Linked DNA regions of Homo sapiens: all the other regions are linked to region 1. The links are contacts of gene promoters, found by promoter capture Hi-C in blood cells and fetal thymus (Javierre and others, 2016). All regions are on one chromosome and are shown on one strand. The core of a region is centred on a gene start or on the middle of the fragment in contact, and the rest is flanking DNA. Distances in the headings are between cores, read along the strand shown.

Region 1 (2,536 bases), core at 27-2,526:
TCCCGCGTAGCTGGGACTACAGGCACGCACCACCATGCCAGACTAATTTTTGTATTTTTAGTAGAGGTGGGGTTTCACTATGTTTGCCAGGCTGGTCTTGAACTCCTGACCTCATGATCCACCCACCTCGGCCTCCCAAAGTGCTGGGATTAGAGGCATGAGTCACTGAGCCCGGCCTGACATAGTAATTCTTTAAACCATCCTTCCTCAATGTGAAGCTCCTGGTGTATTTTCACCAGCTTCTCTCCTCCCTCCTCAAATCCTGGCTCAGTTTAGAATAACTACTCCCTTCTATCCTGTCTCCTCTCATCCTTTGCTTTCTTTTGAGAAAGAACTCTGAACGTTTTCTTTTTCTGAGATCTCTCCAGCTACTCTTCACTTTTTCTCCCCTGTTCTTGGTCTCCTCTCCTGTTTCTTTCCAACCCTCTCCATCTTCCCCACCCTGTACATTTTTTTTTTAACTCCCACTCCTCTTCCCCACATCTATTCCACTCTCACACTGCTCCTCCTTGGTGTAATAATATTCCTTGTCAATGATAATCTTCTCTTCCACGGTGTGGGACAGCAGCTCAAAGGAGTTCATCACCTCGATATTTCGGCCCTCCTGCTTGCCAATCAGAGCCCCAATCACTGGGAAAGAGAATGACATGGAAAAGGTGAGGGTAAAGAAACTTCTATGACCTGAGGGTCTGAGATCAGTGGGAACCATGTATTGGGGAAACGATGATTTGGGGGAGGGGGAATTGGCTCCAGTAGAGGAAGGGGAAAAGACCACTGCCTGGGGGAGGTGAGCAAGGAGAAGAGACTGGAGTCTATGCCCAACACTCACCCTGCACAGGCCGCCCCTCCTGGGAGCGCATGCGGATCCAGTGGTCTGAGATGTTGAGAATGACAAGGGGATGGAGAGCGACGGAAACACTCCCAGTCACTCCGCAGGCCATCACGCTGGGGACTACTAAGGGTGGAGGGAAAGGAGAGAGGGTGAGAGTCCGGGCCCCACGTTCTTCCCTGGAGATGGCAGTGGGGGACGGCGGAGCCCGGGCCACACTTTCCTCCCGTAACTTATCCCAGGGAAAGATGTTGCTGCTCCGCCCTCCTCCCTTCTCCCGGGAGCACAGGGAGGCCTCAACGAACCCCTGAAGGAGGTCTCCGGAAGCCACCCCCGCACGGCCCGTTACCTGCTGCATCCACCTCCATCCCGCTGCTTCCTCCGGTCCCGTTCGTAGCTGCAGCCGCCGCCGCCGCCGCCGCCATTTTCCCCGCGCCCGCCAGCCTCGGCCCCGCCCCCTTCCTTCCCGGCTTCCGTAAGGCGAGCGGCGCATGTTCGGTGTCCCCGCGGCGTGCGGCGGGCCTGGCGTCCGGGGAGCAGGCAGTTCCCGGGTCGCGGCGGGCGGCACTCGGTGCGGGGACGCCCGACGCCCTCTGGGCCTCGGTGCCTAGCGGGTTTTCCCAGACCCTGTCCCCGCCTGTCGCCTGCGGGTGACCTTTGACAAATTAACGACTTGATCGTCCTCGTCTGTGAAATTGGGATAAGAACGCCTAGTTCTTAAGGCTGTTGCAGAAGGAATGACATGTCGTGTTATTTCCCTCACAATAAAATCCAAACAACTAACCACAACCTGCAAGGCCCTGCCTGATCTGGCCCCGGCCTGGCCTCTTCTAGCCCTTGATCTTCAGGCTTCAGCTGCACTGGCCCTCATGTCTGGTGGTGGTGGTGGTTTGTTTTGTTTTGTTTGAGACAGGGTCTCGCTCTGTCGCCCAGGCTGGAGTGCAGTGGCCTGATGTCAGCTCACTGCACCCTCAAACTCCTGGGCTCAAGTGATCCTCCCAGTTCAGCCTCCCGAGTAGCTGGGACTACAGGCGCACCCCACCGCACCCAGCTAATTTTATTATTTGTTTTTATTTTGATAGAGACGGGGGTCTCACTAGGTTGTCCAGGCTGGTCTCCAACTCCCGGGCAGAAGAGATCCTCCATCCTCAGCCTCCCAAAGCACTGGGATTACAGGCATGAGCCACCGCACCCAGCTCTCCGTGTGTTTTTCACATGCTTTAGTTTCCCATTCAAAAGCCTGTGGTTCCTTCTCTTGTTCATCATGGTATCCCCTGTGACCAACACGGTGCCTGACACATTGGAGCCTAGATACTTTTTGAGTGAATGAAGGAATAATTAGGGGTGGAATCTGGTGTTGAGTTAGTTGCTCCATCTTGTGAAAGTTGCAGATACCAGGACAAAATCACATTGTCAGGTCCAAACAAATTGGAGCCATGAGAACACCAAGGAGAAGGTCTCATGCTTGCATGTCTGAGATAGGAATTATCTCAAGGACTTTCGAAAATAACCCCACAAGGCCAGGCATGGTGGCTCACACCTGTAATACCAGCATTTTGGGAGACCGAGGCCAGACAATCACTTGAGGTCAGCAGTTTGAGACGAGCCTAGCCAACATGGTGAAACCCCATCTCTACTAAAAATACAAAAATTAGCCAGGCGTGGTGGCAGGCGCCTGTAATCCCAGCTACTCAGGAGCCTGAGGCA
Region 2 (2,536 bases), core at 25-2,524, 790 kb before region 1:
AGTTCCAAACCAGCCTAGCCAACATGGTGAAACCCCGTCTCTACTAAAAATACAAAAATTAGACGGGCGTGGTGGCAGGTGCCTGTAATCCCAGCTACTCGGGAGGCTGAGGCAGGAGAATTACTTGAACCCCAGAGGCGAAGGTTGCAGTGAGCCAAGATTGCGCCATTGCACTCCAGCCTGGGCGACAGGGCAAGACTCTGTCTCGAAATAACAATAATAATTTTTAAAAGTTAGGCGGGCGTGATGGCCTCCCCCTGGAGTCCCAGCTTCTCAAGAGGCTGAGGCGGGAGGCTCGGTTGAGCCCGGGAGGTGGAGGCTGCTACGACTGCATCAATGCACTCCAGCCAGGGCAGCAGAACAAGACCCCATCTCAATAACAAAACAAAAAAAAGCAAAAAAGCACGCTTTTCGTGCATGTATAAACAGTGCTTCTTCATACTCAAACTCTTAGCTCTATAGCTCTGATCTGCAGAGAATTTCAAAAACCAAGCCACAGCTAGTTATTTGGCCAACAGCAAATAGGCTGAACCACAGAAAACGGTCCAATGAGCCATTTCATAGGATTCGCCCTCATAAAAATTACAAGGGGGAGAAAGAAAAGCGACGCGGGTGGAGTGAAACGGCATGAAACGGGGACAAGATGAAGTTAAAAACGGCTCACCTGTCATTCCAATCGTCCCCTCGACGTCTTTCATCTCTCTCGCGGGAACGGTCGTAGTCGCTGCGCTCTCTTCTGAACTTGTCCCTGCGCCTTCGATCGTACTCGTCATCACTGTCACCCATGGCACGGTCTGAGGGGGCCTGGGGACCGGGGAGAGGCGGTAGGAGTGGTGCAAAAGGACGAGCGGAGGAAGGGACCGTCCCTCGCGGGCAGCTCGCCCGCTTCCCTCCCGCCAAGGCCAGCCCTCCGCGGCCCCCACCATCCTAGGCCTGAGAACGCGGCTCCAACACCTCCACTCGCCCCGAGTTTCTCCGCGCCCGCCCCCGTGGACCCCGGTTCCTCTCCCGCCCCAGCGGGGCCCCCCAGGCTCCTCCCCTCCCCCACCTTGGTGCGGCCGCGGCCGTTGGACTCGCGCTCGGACGGGCTAGATTTCAGGGCGACCTGGGTCGCGGGCGCGCGACGAGGACTTCGAGGAGGGCGAGACGGAGACGGAGCTCTTGAGTAGAGGGCCGAAGAGAGGCGAACAAAAGTGGGACAACCGGGGATGGGCAGTAGCGCGCGCAGCCCGCGCTGCGCCTGCGTCACCCACGCCTCCGAGGCACAAAGCTCCACCCTCGCGGCCGGAACTGGAACTAACAAACCGAGCGCGAAGGGCGGGGAGAGCAGGGCGTGATGGGAAAGGGGCGGGGATCTCGCAAGTCTCGCGCGGCTTTTCGAGACGATAACGGCTCGAGCGTTAGGAACTACGGGACCTCGGCTGGGCCAAGCGCGGCCTCGGGAGGCGAACAAGCCCTCTGGGCGCGAAGGGAGAGCGGAAGTCGAGGATCGCGCGACCCCAGATGTGTCGGGGTCCTAAGACGGTTCTCATCCAGCCATGTTCCCCCCACGGGCCTCCTGACCTCACCGGGGGTGATTTCGTCCCCTCCTCGGGCAGGGCGTGGGCTTGGGAAGCGCGGGCGCTTAGGGGATGGAAGGTGGAAGCAACCATTTTAAAGCATCGTATCCCACCATTTTCTGCTCCAAATATCCAGCCAAAATTGGGTGCCACAGTGCGCACTAAATGCAAAGTCCGCCGTTCCTGCTTTTCCTCGACAAAGACGCCCCGTCTTTAAGTAAAATTGGCAGATCTCAGTCTTAACCCCGCTCAGTATTTGGATGAAATAGGCTGTAAGTTAACGCCCTAAACAGAGTATGGACCGCCCAGATTCAATGGATTACCACCCCCGGGAGTAACACCAAGGCCCCTCTCAGTGAATTGAGTGTGAGACTTAATAGGAAGACCAGCTGAGATGGCTCACGCCTGCAATCCCAGCGCTTTGGGAGGCCGACGTGGGAGAATCACTTGAGCCCAGGAGTTGGAGACCTGCCTGGGCAACATAGCAAGGCCCCTTTACAGAATATTTAGGGCCAGGCACATTGGCTCACACCTGTGATCCCAGCACTTGGGAAGGTCGAGGAGGGAGGACTTAAGCCCAAGAGTTCAGGACTAGCCTGGGCAACATAGCAAGATCCCATCTACACACAAAAAAATAATAACTGGGCTTGGTGGGATGCCCCTGTGGTCCTAGCTACTGGGGAGGCTAAGCCAGGAGGACTGTTTGAGCCCAGGAGTTCAGGGCTGCAGTGAGCCTTGATTGCACCACTGCACTCTAGCCTGGGGAACAGAGTGAGGCCCTGTCTCAAAATAGATACATAGAGGAAATCTTGCCTCCTCCCTGAGGCGTGCTTGCTCCCAGCACTGAGAGGAGGGTAGTGACGGATTACAAGAGTTGTCAAAAAAAACTGGACCTGAGTCAAAAAGACCCAGGTTCCACCATTTAAGAACCATGCAATCTGGGGGAGTCACCTCTCAGCTCTGACATCCTCACATGT
Region 3 (2,536 bases), core at 25-2,524, 680 kb after region 1:
AGGTTAAGTATTTACCTTTCAGCATAACAGATTCATCTCTCTCAAATTCATTCAGTCACTCCCTTCTGTACTGACACTTTACAAAGACCCACCCCCCCCCCGCCCACAGAGCCTCCTCTCATGAACTCTCTAAAACAACCATATAGAGGAGGAATCAAACTCTATAAGGTAGAATCAGGGTCACACAGCTGAGAATTTGCAAAACCTGACTCTGGAGGGCTCCTGACTCCCAAATCAGTGGTCTTCGCACTAGTCTCCCCTACGCTGAAGCTAAAAATAGGTGAATTCTGGTCTCGGCCCCAAGGCGCATAGTCTGTGACAAGAGAATGATCGCTTTTCTACGACCCAGGGAAATTCGAGGGCCCTGATCCAGCCTGGAAGTCAGAAGAGGCCTCTCGGAGGTGAAAATGGTAGGCGGTAACCAGATCGAGGAGAAAGAGGACGTAGGAGGTAATCAGATCGAGAAGAAAGATGTGCCGGGAGGTGTAAGAGAGATTGGGGCGCTAGGGGAAGGAGGCGAGGAGGAGCGAAGGAAGATAGTGCAGGATTGTAGGGAAAACTCATAAAAAGGACAGCATCTGAACCCAGCTTAGAAAAACAATCAGAACACAGAAGACGTTCCTACCAGAGGAAACGGCGCGAGAATCCTAGAGGAAAACCCCCAAATCTACCGTCCCCTCAGAAGAACGAACGTGGCGCCGCCTCCTCTCGGGAGCTCTCTCCGGCCTCAAGGTCCAAAGCCCGAACACATCCCAGTGGCTGGCTGAGAGTCCAGCCACTCATATCTCCCTCCAGGACGGTGCAGACCACCGGTCTCCCGCCTCAGCCGTTGCCAAGGTAATCGAGAACAGAGGGAAAACACATACCGGAAGCTCCTGGAGCTTGGGTAGCTGCTTCTCGACAGAAGGCTTCCGCTCTTCAGGCGATCTCTAAGGCATGAGGTCCTTGCGGAGCCCCGCCCTACCCGCGCGGAGATTGCGTCATCTTAGGTGTCCTCAGCAATGCCTGTATAGAATTCCAGAGCCGCTGTTGCCATTTGCCCTCACTTCCGGTGGGTGGCAGGCAGGGCCACGCGTCTTCCCGAACGGAGAGACTAGGGGCGTTGTTGCCTGGCAGCAGACGGGCAAGCCTGGACTTAGGCGGCGCGCAGGACGGTCCGACTTCGTGCGGAGGCCTCCCTGAGGTCCGGGTCCTTGCGGCCACTGCGGCCACTGAAGCGGCGGCGGCGGCTGGCCCAGGAGGAAGAAGTCGAGCCCAAGCTATTTCCGGTTCCGGTGTCAGTTCGAGGCGCCGCCGCCGCCGCCGCAGCCGCCGGAGCCGCAATGCCTAAAGGAGGTGAGGGGCGGGCGCCGGTGGCCCGCAGGCCTGGAGGGGCGGCCCAGGTCCGGCTTCCGCTGTCCCCTCAGCCCGTGCGCGTCTCTGAGAGCAGCGCAGAGGGAGGCTGTCCGCACCGGCTGAGAGCCAGGCCTGGGCCTCGACGCCCAATTGTCCCGATGGGGAAACTGAGGACTGTGGTGTCCCAGAGTCACTCCGTCAGTGGTCTGAGGAGTTTCGGAAGCTCTGGGTCCTCGCCGGCCTAGAAAGCCGGATCTAGGATGCGCTTCTCCGGGTCTAGGGGTTCTGGAATTTATCCCACTCTTTGGCTGGCTAGGAACTGAGTCACCGCGTCCCGCGCTTGTGCCGGGCCCGCCTGCCTCTCGCGTAAAACGTGGGCTTTTTCTGGCTTCGGTTCAGCCAGGCCTGCCTAGGAGGACTTAAGGAGATGCCCATGAGCCTTCCAGACCTGGTTTCGACTCCCCCGTTCGGTAGCGGCTCGGTGTGTTCCTTTGAGCCAGTCGCTCCACCTCCTGTGTCTCCGTTTTCTCATTTGCCAATGGGAATAACGATTGTACCTACCTCTTAGTACTGTTGGGAGGCTTCAACTAGGTAATCCACGTGGAGTGCGCAGTACAGTGCCAGGCAGTCGTTAAAAGTGCCCAGTGAAGCAGTAACTATTCTTATTTTTAAGGCTTTGCCAGCTCTTGATCTTGTAAGTAGGTTCATGACTGCCCAGTCCATTGTAGCCCGTCCTCTATCTTCTAGCCCGTTCTCTATCCTGTTTCCCCCTTTAGAATCGATAGTCCCCAGTTTGAATCCCAGCTATGTCACGTCTAATTCTGTGGCCCTGAACAAGTTAACCTCTTCCTCATCTGAAACACTGGGCTAATCCTTAGCTTGTTGAATTGGGGCCGGGGTGGTAAAATTATAGCGCTCATAAAGTGCCTGGCCACCTCCTGGCACAGAACAAATATATTTGTGTTGGTAGCTCATGTGTTATATTGGTTAATGCACTCAACCCACAGAAACATCTGCCTGTAGCGTTTTCAAACCTAAATCGCTTCCTGACTCCAGAGATAATTGGGCATTACAGAGCTAAATGTGTTTAAACCTAGCTCTCTACTGATTTATTCTGTGGCTGGAAAAGTCTCTCTGCTATTGTTCCCCAGTCCCTTCATCTGTAAAAGGAGGTTGCTGAATGAGCCATCCTCCCTCCGAA
Region 4 (2,536 bases), core at 11-2,510, 630 kb after region 1:
GTGTGTGACTTTGGTCACGTGGCCCAACCTCTCTGAGTCTATCCCCCCTCCCCTCCTTTAAGGTAAAGACATGAAGTGCTTGTTGTGAAGATTAAATAAGCTAATAATGTCAAGTAAATGTTAGCTTTGCAGTAATCTTTCCTGTCCGCCACGTTACTGCTTTTTTCGAGACCCTTTTCTGGAGTTACTCCCAGCAAGCTGTTACTCAGACGTCCTGTTGGTTAATAAAGCTGTCCCTGCAGCAGTTCTGCTATTGTATAGACTCAGTCTTAAAATAGTGGGCTTGATGTGACATATTTCTTCATAATATTGTGTATGTGCAGCCTCTGTGTAATTGCATTATGCACCTTTATTGCATAGTTGAAGCAGTGGCAGGAAAGGATGCCATATGTGTTACTGGGAGATTATTCAGTGGGTATTTTTTCTCACTCTTCCGTTTCAGTACCAGTGAAGGACAAGAAACTTCTGGAGGTCAAACTGGGGGAGCTGCCAAGCTGGATCTTGATGCGGGACTTCAGTCCTAGTGGCATTTTCGGAGCGTTTCAAAGAGGTCAGAGCCTTGTGGATGTCTGTAAATGAAAGCAAATCTCTGGGTCTTCAGATCTCTTTTTTGCCATGAATTAATTTGGGCAATGAAGGCCTTGTTGTCTGAAAGCAGTAAGTTATGTAGAGGATGACAGGGAGGGATGCTAGGCCTTGGACTTCTGTGGTTGATTGGCCCTTTCAAAGGCTGGCTCTGAGATATTACAGCCAAGAACATGTTTCCTGTTGCTTGGAATCAGTATGTCTGCCTCTGTCTTAGAGAAATCCTAAGACTTCTTTAAGAGGAAAATGAATTGGAACCGTAGTGGGCATTAGTCTATAATATGATGCTCTCCTCCCTGCCAGAACTTCAGGACAAATATTTGAAATGGCCTATCTTGGCCTGGTGTGGTGGCTTATGCCTGTAATCCCGGCACTTCGGGAGGCCAAGGCTGGAGGATTGCTTGAGCCGAGTTTAGACCAGCCTAGGCAATATGGAGAGACCCCATCTCTATAAAAAAAACCACACAAGAAAAATTAGCTGGCTGTGGTGGTGCATGCCTGTAGTCCCAGCTACTCAGGAGGCTATAAGCTCACAGCCAAAGGGGAGAGGTGGAATCCAGGTAGGCCTAGTTCAGGAGCTGGTATGTGCTTATAGTTCAGGCTATGGGGATGAGAGACCTTACTGGCATTTGTGCTTGTCATCTTTATCAGCCAGTGAATGCAGGGCGAGGGGCTTAAACAGCCAGAGCAGGACTAGGTCCCTGAATGTCAGCCAGACTCAACTGTGTGCTCAACTTCACTCAAATGTGAAGCCCAGCAGGGCAGTGAGCGCCTCTTGCGTTTGCAGGTTACTACCGGTACTACAACAAGTACATCAATGTGAAGAAGGGGAGCATCTCGGGGATTACCATGGTGCTGGCATGCTACGTGCTCTTTAGCTACTCCTTTTCCTACAAGCATCTCAGTGAGTGCCTCTGCGGCGTCTTGCCTTTAGTTCCCATGAGAGGGTGGTGGTGACTGATTTCATTAGATACAGCAGCCCACCTTCTTCTGAGGCTGAGGGACCTTTAGTTAAAGTTCCTTATGTTTCCACCTAAAAGAATTGGAGGGACCTATCAGAGTACAGTATGTGGGATATTGTTTGAAATGAGAAAATTGTGACAAAGAGAACACAGGAAAATCAAGATGAAGCCAGGGTAAAGAGAGTACTTAGAAGCATTCTTTAAAATACAGCACACTGTGAAAATTTGGCTCGATTTTCCTAGTAGCCAATGCAGAAAGAGAAATGAGTTGAGTGGGATAATCTGGTACCCCAGAAAAGCATGGCTGTTCCGGCTCTGAGGCTTGAGAGGAGCTTGTCTGGTGGGAGATTGGCGGGAGGTGTCGGTGGCAGCCTCTGACTAGGCTGTTTCTGACAGTGTAGTGTACACCCCCTACCCCCACCTCACTCCCATTCTGTGGCACCAGGGCGGTCCTGCCTCTGAAGGACGGGTTCTCTGGGGCTGTTTGTCTGAGCGTGTGTTCCCTCTGTTCCTTCTGGAAAGAAAGTGGTTGGCCAGGTGGCAGGTTGGCTCCTGAGGTGTCTTTGTGCCCCCCGGGTCTGCTGATTCTGCAGAGACACCGGCAGGCGGGTCATGGGTCATCTCTGAAGGGAATTCTCAGGAAGGCTTTGTGTGATCTCAGCCTGCTTCCTGCCATGCTGTGCCTTCACTGTAACCTTTTAAGATACTTACCATCTTGCCTTCCTGACTTCAGAGCACGAGCGGCTCCGCAAATACCACTGAAGAGGACACACTCTGCACCCCCCCACCCCACGACCTTGGCCCGAGCCCCTCCGTGAGGAACACAATCTCAATCGTTGCTGAATCCTTTCATATCCTAATAGGAATTAACCTCCAAATAAAACATGACTGGTACGTGTGCTGATTGCCTGCCTGTCTGCCGTAGCCATTATCCCATGTTCCAGGGGCTCCTGTGGCACAAGGTGGGGGGAGGTCGTCTTTCCAGGCCG
Region 5 (2,536 bases), core at 24-2,523, 540 kb after region 1:
ATAGAGGCTGTGCGTGGTCCCAACAATATGGGCTACCTCTTATTTTTCTTTTTTTTTTTTTTTTTTTTTTGAGACGGAGTCTCGCCCTGTTGCCCAGGCTGGAGTGCAGTGGTGTGATCTCAGCTCACTGCAGCCTCCACCTCCCAGGTTCAAGCAATTCTCCTGCCTCAGCCTCCCGAGTAGCTGGGACTACAGGCACACACCACCGTACCCAGGTAATTTCTGTATTTTTAGTTGAGACGGTGTTTCACCATGTTGCTCAGGCTGGTCTCGAACTCCTGAACTTGTGATCCACCCACCTCAGCCTCCCAAAGTGCTGACATTACAGGTGTGAGCCACCGTGCCCGGCCAATATGGTCTACCTCTTACCAAGGCTGATGTAACTCTCACCATGGTGGAGTGTCCAGCCTGCCAGCATTAGAGACCAACACTGAGTCTTAGAGATACCAGCTACCACCAGGTTGAGTGCATCAGATCCCTTTTACCTTGGAATGGGCATCAATTTGTTCTTACCAGAATTGATATATGCTCTAAATGAGCTTGTCTTCCCCAACTACTTTGCCTCCAGCAGCACCACCATCTGAGAGCTTACAGGGTGCCTTATCCATTGACATACCTGAAACTAAGGAACCCACCGATAGCCAAGGAGGTGTGACAGTGAACTCGAAGCTACAAAATTCATGGTGCATACTCATCATCCAGAAGCAGCTAGCCAGATAGGGTTTTGGAATGGCCTGTTGAAGACTGGGCTAAATTGCGATTAAGATGTAATGCCTTGCAAAGTTGGGAGCAGTTCTTCAGAATATGGTATATGCGCTGAAATGCATTGGGCCAAAATGGATATATAGTATTGTGTCTCCAGTAGGACTATGTGCATACAGGAGTAGCCTCTATTACTATCACACCCAGCCACTCACCTGTAGAATTTGTGCCTCCTCGCTCCGAAATCTGGAGCCAGCTGGGTTATGATCCTCATTTCCAGGAAGAACATTTCCTCTAGGAAACATTAAATCGTGCCACTGAACTGAAAACAGAATACCACCAGGCCACTTTGAGTTTCTTGTGCCAGTAGGTCCGTAGGCAAAGAAAGGAGTCGTTATAGAGATGCCTACAATTCCTGCCACACACACAACATAAATACAAAATCATATACCCAGTCAACTGCATTCAGTAATCTGCCTTCCTGGACCCTTTAGGCACTTCAGTGTAGGAATGGGGACGGGTGGGGAGGAGAGACTTTAGACAAAGAAGAAAAATACAGTGTGTAGCAATGTAATGACTCTTAGCGATGACTTGGAACCCTGGAAGGAAATATGAGGATGTATCTGGAGGAATAAGTTGAGACTATGATGTCATCACGGAGGACTGTAGGTTAGAAAGCCAGCCAGTGATAAAGGAGCAAAGATTGGATTTGACGGTGCCCTAGGAGGAAAAAAAAAAAAAAAAAAATATATATATATATATATATATATATATATGTGTGTGTATATATATATATGTGTGTGTATATATATATACATGTATATATATGTGTATATATATGTGTGTGTATATATATGTGTGTATATATATATATGGAGCAAAGATGCACTTAAGTGGATTATTGAGAAGACTCGTGGGTAGGTAGAAAATGGCAACCATAGCAAGATCAAACCCCCTAAGGAATGGAGCATTAGTGAGGGTCTAGAAGGTAATTCGGGATACCACGTAATCATAGGCTCTGTATCAGGTAGCCGTTCCTTTTGTAGGCTTTTATCTTATTGGGCTGTACCACAGACTTGCCCAGAACTTTTAGAGTCATGCCCCAGCCATTCAAGGTCTCAGTTACTGTTTTATAAAAGGTGAAGTTATTCTTGATCTAATCATAGAAGCCCTAATTATTACAATAACACTTGGACAGCAAAAACGCCTCAAATTCAACTTATTTCACCGTTGCTAATCTGAAAACTCCCTGGAAACATAAGGCAAACTCAGAATTTTATAACTATCTAGTGTTGGAAAGAACGTCTGTTGCCTATAGATCAAGTATTTGAAAATACTGCCCATTCAACTGGCAATACGTACATAATCAGCGTCTCAAGAGACAATCCCTTCGATTTGTGAAACCATTTATTCTTGATCTTCCTGTCTCCACCCTCGTTTCATTCAGCTCCTCTGCCACAGACAATCACTATTTTTATTGTAACTATTACAATTATTGTCATCAAGAAAAATAGAAGGAACATATAAATATCTGAGCAGGGCGGTATAAAGGGAAATTCATCCCTTTTTCCCCGCCCTGTGCACCTCCTCGGAGCGGACAAGCTGAGGAGCAAGATCCCCAAACCCGAGATTAGAGCCCTACACAGGGATGCAAAGTCCTCCCGCGATCCTAGAGAGGACCCCGAAGCGGAGCGCAGCTCCGGAAGGCGGGTGTGACGCACTTCCGGCTTTTGTGACGCTTTCCCTGGGCTCTGAAGGCCAGGGGGCTTGGATGTGAGTCTAGTGCTCCTGGTCCCCAAAGTCACAACCCCTTCTATCCCAGCATCCCAGACTT

Evidence for each region. Contacts are between HindIII fragments. The CHiCAGO score rates a contact against its expected background, and 5 or more counts as called.
Region 2: the fragment with the promoter of SRRT here is called in contact with the fragment with the promoter of COPS6 in region 1 in 1 of 17 cell types (naive CD8 T cells); the score reaches 5.5 in naive CD8 T cells.
Region 3: the fragment with the promoter of PDAP1 here is called in contact with the fragment with the promoter of COPS6 in region 1 in 2 of 17 cell types (M0 macrophages and erythroblasts); the score reaches 6.1 in M0 macrophages.
Region 4: a contact is called between a fragment that was not itself captured here and the fragment with the promoter of COPS6 in region 1, in 1 of 17 cell types (non-activated CD4 T cells). The highest score is 5.6, in non-activated CD4 T cells.
Region 5: a contact is called between a fragment that was not itself captured here and the fragment with the promoter of COPS6 in region 1, in 1 of 17 cell types (erythroblasts). The highest score is 6.2, in erythroblasts.

The regions. Positions count from the first base shown.
Region 1 is chr7:100,087,709-100,090,244 of GRCh38, reverse strand. COPS6 (COP9 signalosome subunit 6) reads right to left here and starts at 1,276. Exons shown (of 10, transcript NM_006833.5): 1 at 1,179-1,276; 2 at 830-955; 3 at 499-630. The coding sequence starts at 1,254. RefSeq lists enhancers at 1-878, 385-1,076, 2,463-2,536 and a silencer at 1,227-1,416. The HindIII fragment of the contact is 8,452 bases long and covers 1-2,536 here.
Region 2 is chr7:100,873,841-100,876,376 of GRCh38, reverse strand. SRRT (serrate, RNA effector molecule) reads right to left here and starts at 1,274. Exons shown (of 20, transcript NM_015908.6): 1 at 1,049-1,274; 2 at 665-804. The coding sequence starts at 786. RefSeq lists a silencer at 793-1,022 and enhancers at 1,163-1,222, 1,433-1,482, 1,059-1,724, 1,725-2,389. The HindIII fragment of the contact is 10,507 bases long and covers 1-2,536 here.
Region 3 is chr7:99,407,335-99,409,870 of GRCh38, reverse strand. It overlaps PDAP1 (PDGFA associated protein 1), which reads left to right and starts at 1,274. Exons shown (of 6, transcript NM_014891.7): 1 at 1,274-1,335. The coding sequence starts at 1,323. BUD31 (BUD31 spliceosome associated protein) reads right to left here and starts at 902. Exons shown (of 6, transcript NM_003910.4): 1 at 626-902. It overlaps MIR12119 (microRNA 12119), which reads right to left and starts at 699; the gene lies at 607-699. RefSeq lists an enhancer at 846-1,235 and a silencer at 1,446-1,505. The HindIII fragment of the contact is 3,476 bases long and covers 1-2,536 here.
Region 4 is chr7:99,458,100-99,460,635 of GRCh38, reverse strand. It overlaps ATP5MF-PTCD1 (ATP5MF-PTCD1 readthrough), which reads left to right. Exons shown (of 9, transcript NM_001198879.2): 2 at 443-550. ATP5MF (ATP synthase membrane subunit f) reads left to right here. Exons shown (of 4, transcript NM_004889.5): 2 at 443-550; 3 at 1,373-1,489; 4 at 2,281-2,441. The coding sequence ends at 2,309. Among named protein-coding and RNA genes, the nearest start is that of ATP5MF, 6.8 kb to the left of the region's middle. The HindIII fragment of the contact is 4,032 bases long and covers 1-2,536 here.
Region 5 is chr7:99,552,013-99,554,548 of GRCh38, reverse strand. It overlaps FAM200A (family with sequence similarity 200 member A), which reads left to right and starts at 2,435. Exons shown (of 2, transcript NM_145111.4): 1 at 2,435-2,536. It overlaps LOC105375422 (a long non-coding RNA gene), which reads right to left and starts at 2,384. Exons shown (of 3, transcript XR_927801.4): 1 at 2,065-2,384; 2 at 918-1,024. The HindIII fragment of the contact is 4,575 bases long and covers 1-2,536 here.